Regions from separate parts of the Homo sapiens genome. Here region 1 is linked to region 2. The links are contacts of gene promoters, found by promoter capture Hi-C in human tissues and cell types (Jung and others, 2019). All regions are on one chromosome and are shown on one strand. The core of a region is centred on a gene start or on the middle of the fragment in contact, and the rest is flanking DNA. Distances in the headings are between cores, read along the strand shown. Region 1 has its middle 19 kb from the start of TUBA3E. Region 2 holds the start of TUBA3D (tubulin alpha 3d).

The links. The method cuts DNA at HindIII sites, captures the fragments that hold promoters and counts their contacts. A contact is called where the count stands out against the background at its distance.
Region 1: a fragment that was not itself captured here is called in contact with the fragment with the promoter of TUBA3D in region 2 in 1 of the 25 tissues and cell types used here (lymphoblastoid cells).

Annotation. Positions count from the first base shown.
Region 1 is chr2:130,214,881-130,219,050 of GRCh38, reverse strand. No RefSeq gene overlaps it. Among named protein-coding and RNA genes, the nearest start is that of TUBA3E, 19 kb to the right of the region's middle. The HindIII fragment of the contact is 3,319 bases long and covers 195-3,513 here.
Region 2 is chr2:131,474,445-131,478,434 of GRCh38, reverse strand. It overlaps TUBA3D (tubulin alpha 3d), which reads right to left and starts at 2,316. Exons shown (of 5, transcript NM_080386.4): 1 at 2,233-2,316; 2 at 49-271. The coding sequence starts at 2,235. It also overlaps a transcript of MZT2A not described here. The HindIII fragment of the contact is 16,461 bases long and covers 1-3,990 here.

The sequences.
Region 1 (4,170 bases), core at 605-3,104, 1.3 Mb after region 2:
GTCTTTTTTTTTTTTTTTTGAGACAGGGTCTCACTCTGTTGCCCAGGCTGTAGAGCAGTGATGCAACCACAGCTCACTGATGCCTCGGCCTTCCAGGCTCAGTTCCTCCCACCTCAGCCTCCTGGGTAGCTGGGAATACAGGCATGCACCACAAAGTCTGGCTAATTTTTTGTAGTTTTTCATAGAGATGAGGTTTCCCCATGTTGCCCAGGCTGGTCTCGAACTCCTGGGCTCAAGCTGTCCACCCACTTCAGCCTCCCAAAGTGAGCCACCTTTCATCTCCTCATCTCATCTTATGACTCTGTGCTTGAACTGGTGTATTTAAAGATTAAGGACCTTTCTGACCAATGTCAAATGAACCATCCAGATTGTTCTGGCTCTCAGAAAGATCAGAGGCAGTCTGAATAGCAAGTAAGGATCAAGTCAACCACCAATTCACCAAACAAAGCCAAAACATTGGCGTCAAGGAATAAGCCAATTGCTGACATAAGTACCTGCTGCCCCAGAAGTTACTTGTTTCAACTATTTGAGTTCAGCACATTATCGCAATTCTAAATACTTAAGGTATCTTCAGCAAGTGAATGCAACTTATAACTTGTTCTTCCATCCTCGGGTAAGTGGGGGAACCATTTGCCATTTTCAGAGTAAATTCATCTGAGTTAGAAGGAAGCCCCTATAACATCAACAGAAAGCAAATTCTATAGTTAAGTCTCTCAACCATTAAATTTTAGGATTATATTCTAGTGGTACTTCTTAGAAAAAAGAAAGAAAGTTTCACCTATGAGATAAATTAGAGGACAAAGTGTTACTTCCTGTCTTCTTGCAATCTTGGCCGGGCACCGTGGCTCACGCCTGTAATCCCAGCACTTTGGGAGGCCGAGGCGGGCGGATCACGAGGTCAGGAGATCGACACCATCCTGGCTAACACGGTGAAACCCCGTTTCTACTAAAAATACAAAAAAATTAGCTGGGCACGGTGGCGGGCGCCTGTAGTCCCAGCTACTCCGGAGGTTGAGGCAGGAGAATGGCGTGAACTCAGGAGGCGGAGCTTGCAGTGAGCCGAGATCGCGCCTCTGCACTCCAGCCTGGGCGACAGCGAGACTCCGTCTCAAAAATAATAATAATAAAATATAAAAATAAAAAATTGTCTTGACCATCTTGGGGTGAAACAGCTGGAGATTAAAGGAAGAAATGGCTGCCGAGCACAGTGGCTCACGCCTGTAATCCCAGCACTTTGCGAGGCCGAGGCGGACAGATCCCGAGGTCGGGAGATTGAGACCATCCTGGCCAACATGGTGAAACCCCGTCTCTACTAAAAATACAAAAATTAGCTGGGCATGGTGGCGTGTGCCTGTAATCCCAGCTACTCGGGAGGCTGAGGCAGGAGAATCGCTTGAACTAGGGAGTCAGAGGTTGCCCTGAGCCGAGATCGCACCACTGCACTCCAGCCTGGTGACAGAGCGACACTCCATCTTAAAAAAAAAAAAAAAAAAAAAAAAAAGAGCGGGGGACGGGGGCGGAGGGGGGTGGGGAAGAAATGGCAAGGCTCTGGGAGGAATAAAAAGAAAAAAAAAAAAAAAAAAAAAAAGAAAGAAAATAACCAGAATTATATCTTTGTTAAACGAGGGGCCAAAACCAGAAAGCTTTGTACAAGGTTTTGTGTCTTGGCAGCAAGCATTGCCCTTACAACATAGAATGTCATTGCAATCATATGGTATCAGTAACCAATGAATTACGGCCAGAACACCTAGGACCTGTTCTTCTAGACTTTAGATGTGAGTTCTCCTTCTCACAAATCTCAAATGCATGTTCATTCTGAACACTGGCTGGTTTTTTTGACCCTTTTTGCTGACCTGAGAGGGTTATATAGCTAGAGTAAGACTGAAACTATTGCCTGGAACATCCCTCAGAGTGGCCAAAATATTTCCTTTATGACCATAAAGCAATTCCAATTCACATTGCTTTCTGTAATAGAGCTTTCCTTTCCTTCCTTCCTTCCTTTCTTTCTTCCTTTCTTTCTTTGTTGACAGAGTCTCCCTCTGTCGACTAGGCTTGAGTACAATGGTGCTATCTCGGCTCATTGCAACCTCCGTCTCCTGGGTTCAAATGATTCTCCTGCCTCAGCCTCTGGAGTAACTGGGATTACAGGTGCACGCCACCATGCCTGGCTTGATTTTGGGGTTTTTAGTAGAGATGGGGTTTCACCATGTTGGCAGGCTGGTCTCAAACTCCTGACCTCAGATGATTCACCTGCCTCAGCCACCCAAAGTGCTGAGATTACAGGCATGAGCCAGGCATAAGCCAGTGCCCAGCCTGTAATAGAGCTTTCTGGACTACTGAGTTCTACAGTATTTTCCTGTATGATTATTTTCAATTTCTGTCTCAACACTTGAGGTAGGCTCTTTCAATAAGGCCCAAACACACTACCAATTAATAGCATTATGCTGTGCTTCTGATTTAAACTTTGGTCCCAGAACCCAGAAATGGGAGCCTGTGTCTATTATCTGTCTCATTTTTAGTGGTCTTTGTGGTCTGCATGGTGAAGATGTAAAAGCTTTAACTAAGATGTAGGAATGGAGAAAAGAAAACCAGGAGAGGACTTGCTTACATTCTAAAAGTGGGTTGTAGGGGAAGAGGAAGCAAAGCTGAGACTTCTGAGTAACTGGACTTATGCTAAGATGCCTAACTGAGGTGGGGGATGATTTAGTTTTGGATGGTTACATGGTAAACTAAAGAAAAATAGTATTGAAGTGAGACAAACATCTAAAAGCTTTATAATACCTTAATTTGATTTTTTAAAAATTATACTTTAAGTTCTGGGGTAAATGTGCAGAATGTGCAGGTTTGTTACATAGGTATACATGTGCCATGGTGGTTTGCTGCATCCATCAACCCATCATCTACATTAGGTATTTCTCCTAATGCTATCCCTCCCCTAGCCCCCCACCCCCAACAGGCCCCAGTGTGTGATGTTCCCCTCCCTGTGTCCATGTGTTCTCATTGTTAACCTCCCACTTATGAGTGAGAACATGCAATATTTGGTTTTCTGTTCCTGTGTTAGTTTGCTGAGAATGATGGTTTCCAGCTTCATCCATGTCCTTGTAAAGGACATGAACTCATCCTTTTTAATGGCTGTGTAGTATTCCATGGTGTATATGTGCCACATTTTCTTTATCCAGTCTATCATTGATGAGCATTTGGGTTGGTTCCAAGTCTTTGCTACTGTGAATAGTGCTGCAATGAACAAACATGTGCATGTGTCTTTATAGTAAAATGATTTATAATCCTTTGGAAATGTAAATCCTTATAATCCCAGTAATGGGATTGCTGGGTCAAATGGTATTTCTTGATCTAGATCCTTGAGGAATCACCACACTGTGTTCTACAATGGTTGAACTAATTTACAGCTTCACCAACAGTGTAAAAGTGTTCCTACTTCTCCACATCCTCTCCAACATCTGTTGTTTTCTGACTCTTTAATGATCACCATTCTAACTGACATGACATGGTATCTCATTGTGGTTTTGATTTTTTAAAGAATTCTACATTAAACATCTTGATGAATTACTAAAGGAATTTCTGTTGGTAAGAGAAAAAGCATGACTACTTTCACTGAGAGTATTCAGTACTGTTCAGGTTTTATTCCCAGTGCAATATGACAGGAAAAATGAAATATACATATTAGAATGAAACATCAATTACACAGCCACTGATATAATTTTCAGAAAATGAAATTAAAAATTAATAAAAACAATGAGTTAAGAGGACAGATAAAAGATAAAATGAAACTCAAAAGAATTCTCATGAATCAAACTGAATCAAATTGAATTTGTACAAGCAAAAAGTTTCTATTCACATTGAAAACTCTAAAATATCTTGATATGCACTTAGAAAAAGTGAGCATTCCCTATGCAGATAAATCTACAGAATGTTACTTGGACTACAAGAGTTAGTTAATGGAGAGACATCATCTGACTAGATGAGAATATCCAGCATTATTTATATCTTGATTATCTCAGCCTCCTCCAAATTAAATATGTTTAATACAATTTTAATCAAATTATTGTTTTTTTTTCTTCGAACGTCAGTGCTTGACTTCAGATTTCTTTTGGAAGAAAAATGTATACGAATACCTTATATTCGATAAGAATGTGAAAAGATTTGCTCTAC
Region 2 (3,990 bases), core at 1,067-3,566:
CTCTCCCACCCTCTCAGGAAAGCTGCCATCCAGTGCCCAGGCACCTACCGACCACAGTGGGCTCCAGGTCCACAAACACTGCTCTGGGCACGTGCTTGCCAGCTCCAGTCTCACTGAAGAACGTGTTGAAGGAGTCGTCCCCGCCACCAATGGTTTTATCACTTGGCATTTGGCCATCGGGCTGAATTCCATGTTCAAGGCAGTACAGTTCCCAGCAGGCATTGCCGATCTGGACACCCGCCTGCCCCACGTGGATAGAGATACACTCGCGCTGTGAACAGGAACATAAAAGTGAACCCATTCATTTCAAGGCAACTTGAAACTATATGGCATGCAAAATATTCTAATTTAATATTTATATACTGCTTCAGTATCTGGCGCTTTCACAATCGATATTTCCTAGGAGGGTTAGTGACTGATCCCTTTATCGCTGTGAAAACTAATTGCTGTAAACCATACTAGCTAGTAAGTTCTAGAGGTAGCCCTAGAACCTGTTTGCCACTACACAAAACTTAGGTTATTTTAAAACTTGGAAGCCATGTAATGTCAATAATCAACCCCACATTATAGCCCGTCACAGTAATTCTCTGAAGAATATGTAGCAGTTTTTGATTATGTCCTGATCAAAGGATAAGGTAGTCGGGTTGGGTAAGGAAATACAGAGTAGGTCCCAGGTCACCATGGTCCAAGCCCAGGTGCTCAGTGTGTGTCCTCTCTCTACCCCCCAGTTCTACCCCGTCCATCATTCACCACCTGCTCTGTGCTCTCGAAGGCTGACCCTTGAGAACAGCATCAGAGGCCTTCCTCGCCCTCTGGCTTCTTGCTGGTTTGGTCAATGGCAGGCAGCAGTGGGATACTGGGGGGCTGGAGAAAGCAGTGCCAGGGTACTCCCTCCTTGGCCCCTTCCTGCTCAACTGCTGTGGGTGACCTGAATCCCTCTCAAGGCCACACTTTTGGCAGGCTGCCCTCTTCATAAAACTACCCTCCCAATTTCTTGTAACCACTCCCTCTCTCTACCCCTTGAAGCCTGTAATGGCTCCCAGACGTCATTAGTGCTGGGACACTGCACTGTCCTTTGGTGGTTTCTTTAAACCCTGCCAAGCTGGGTGTGGTGGCTCATTCCTATAATCCCAGCACTTTAGAAGGCTGAGGTGAGAGGATCACTTGGGACCAGTTTGAGACCAGCCTGGGTAACATAGTGAGTCCCTGTCCCTATGAAAAATCTACAAATTAGCCAGGTGTGGTGGCACACACCTGTAGTACCAGCTACTCGGAAGGCTGAGGTGGGAGGGCTGCTGGAAGCCAGGGGTTCAAGGCTGCAGGGAGCCGTGATCCTGCAACTGTGCTCCAGCCTGGGCAACACAGCATTTGTTGAGTGCTGTCTCAAAAAAAAAAAAGAAAGAAAAAGAAAGGAAAAAAAGGATAACTGACAAACCACAGCTATTCAGACTTGGGACTTGGGAATCTGTTATGTTAATGGGCTGCTTTTTTTGTTTGTGTCTTTGAGGCAGGGTCTCTGTGGCCCAGGCTGGAGTGCACTGGCGCCATCACGACTCACTGCAGCCTCAAAGTTCCAGGCTCGGCTGATCCTCCCACCTCAGCCTCCCGAGTAGCTGGAACCACAGACTCGCATCACCATGCCCGGGTAATTTTTGTATTTTTTTGTAGAGACTGGGTTTCGCCATGTTGGTCGGGCTGATCTTGAACTCCAGACATCAGGTGATCCGCCCGCCTCCACCTCCCCAAGGGCTGGGATTCCAGGCGTGAGCCGCCGCGCCTGGCCTAACGGTTGCCTTTAGGTGAACAAGGCAATGTTGCAGCAGCGTCTGAGCCTTAATTCCTCATCTGATCAATGTCCACAGCCCCAACCCCCGTCACCGAAGGCTCCTGGGGCTCCTCAGTTGTTTCGAGTAGCACAAAGACGTGTGAAGCGGGAGCAGCGCCCTCCCGTCTTCAGGAGGCGACGCCACTATTTGCTCTCTGGGGGACGGGACACCGTCAATGGTCCCGTTCACTAAAGGCCGGCAGCTTCATCTAAAACAAAAGCCGCCGTCCCTGCCCTGGGACCCAAAGATCCAGGAAACGATCCCGTGTCCTCCTGTCCCGCACTAGACCCTGCGTCCTTCTCTGGCCTCCTCTCAGCGCCCAGGCCCGCAACAACGTCCCTCTGTCCACCCGAGGCCAACTTCGTCTGCCTGGGCATCTGCGGGGCGGGAGTGACCCGGGCCTTACCATGGCGAACTCCGCTGCTTCAGCCCAACGCTACTGCCAGACCTCAACCGGCTGCCACAGCTGCTGAGCGCCCAACTGCAACCTCCTGCCTGTGCGCGCCGCACGGGATTGGCCCGCCGGTGCCAGGCCGCCATTGGCTCGGAGTTCCTGGGAGGCGGGCTGAGGGCCGGATCCCAGTTCTGATTGGCCATTGCTCAACATGTGTACTGGGGACGCTCTCTGATTGGATGTAGGATTGGCGGGAAGGCAGCGGGGGTCATCAAAGGCTGCGCGGTTGCTGAGGCATTTCCGGGGTGTCTTCTGACCAGGGTTGGAACAGCTACTGCGCTGCCTCTGTGGGTCGCGGAACATTGCCTTGCTCCCAGTGTGCCACTGCCCCTCCCTGATTGCCCCAGGCCTGCCCCTCTCCCTGCCTAATTCAGATCTTTGCAAACAAGGCCACCTCTGAGAGGCCTTGCCGCCATCTACCCAAGTCACAGCAGCACCGCAATTATCCCCCTCTTCCCTGTTCCCACCCAGCACCTGGGAAGTGGCAGGATTCAATCACTTTTGTGACCCAAAAGGAGAAAACGGGCCGGGCGCGATGGCTAACGCCCGCAATCCCAGCACTTTGGGAGGCCGAGGCGGGTGGATCACCTGAGGTCAAGAGTTCCCAAGACCAGCCTGGCCAATATGGTGAAAACCCGTCTCTACTAAAAATACAAAAATTACCCTGGCTGGTGGTAGGCACCTGTAATCCCAGCTACACGGGAGGCTGAGGTAGGAGAATCGCTTGAAACTGGGAGGCAGTTGTTGCAGTGAGCCGAGATTGGGCCACTGCACACTCCAGCCTGGGCAACAGAGCCATACTCCGTTTCAAAAAAAAAAAAAAAAAAAAAAAAAAGGAAGAAAGGAGGCAAAATTAACGTAAGTGGAGACGTTGGGTCAGGCACACCAGCTCATGCCTGTAATTCCAATGCTTTGGGAGGCCATGGCAGGAGGACTGCTTCAGGTCAGGAGTTCAAGACCAGCCTGGGCAACGTGGTGAGACCCACCTTGCCCGTTTTTACAAAAAATACAAAAAAATAAAATAAAATTAGCAAGGCACGGTGGCGCATGCCTGTAATCCCAGCTACTCAGGAGGCTGAGGCAGGAGAATCCCTTGAACCTGGGAGGCAGAGGTTGCAGTGAGCTGAGATCACGCCACTGCACTCAAGCCTGGGCGACAGAGCGAAACTCCATCTTGAAAAAAAAATAGAGTTTATTTGGGCCAAGTTTGAGAAGTGCAACCCTGGAGATGCAAGTTGTCTTAATATATTGGCAGCAGTTATAAGTGGGTTTTATAAAGGAAAAGAAGAGGCAGTTCCTAAGTTGTTTACCAAGAATTTGAAATTAGAGAAGAAGTCTTGCTGTGTTGTCCAGGCTAGTCTTGAACTCCTGACCTGAAGGGATCCTCCCACCTTGGCTGGCCTAGCCTGAGGAATTTATATGAAAATAACGTAAGCTATTTATTGGGTCAGGCGTGGTGGCTCACACCTGTAATCCCAGCACTTTGGGAGGCCAAGGTGGGAGGATCACTTGAGGTCAGGAGTTCAAGACCAGTCTGGCCAACATGATGAAACCCTTCCTCTACTAAAAATACAAAAATTAGCCAGGCATGGTGGTGAGCACCTATAGTCCCAGCTACTTGGGAGGCTGAGGTAGGATAATCACTTGAACCCGGGAGGCGGAGTTTGCAGTGAGTCAAGATCACACCATTGCACTCCAGCCTGGGCAATA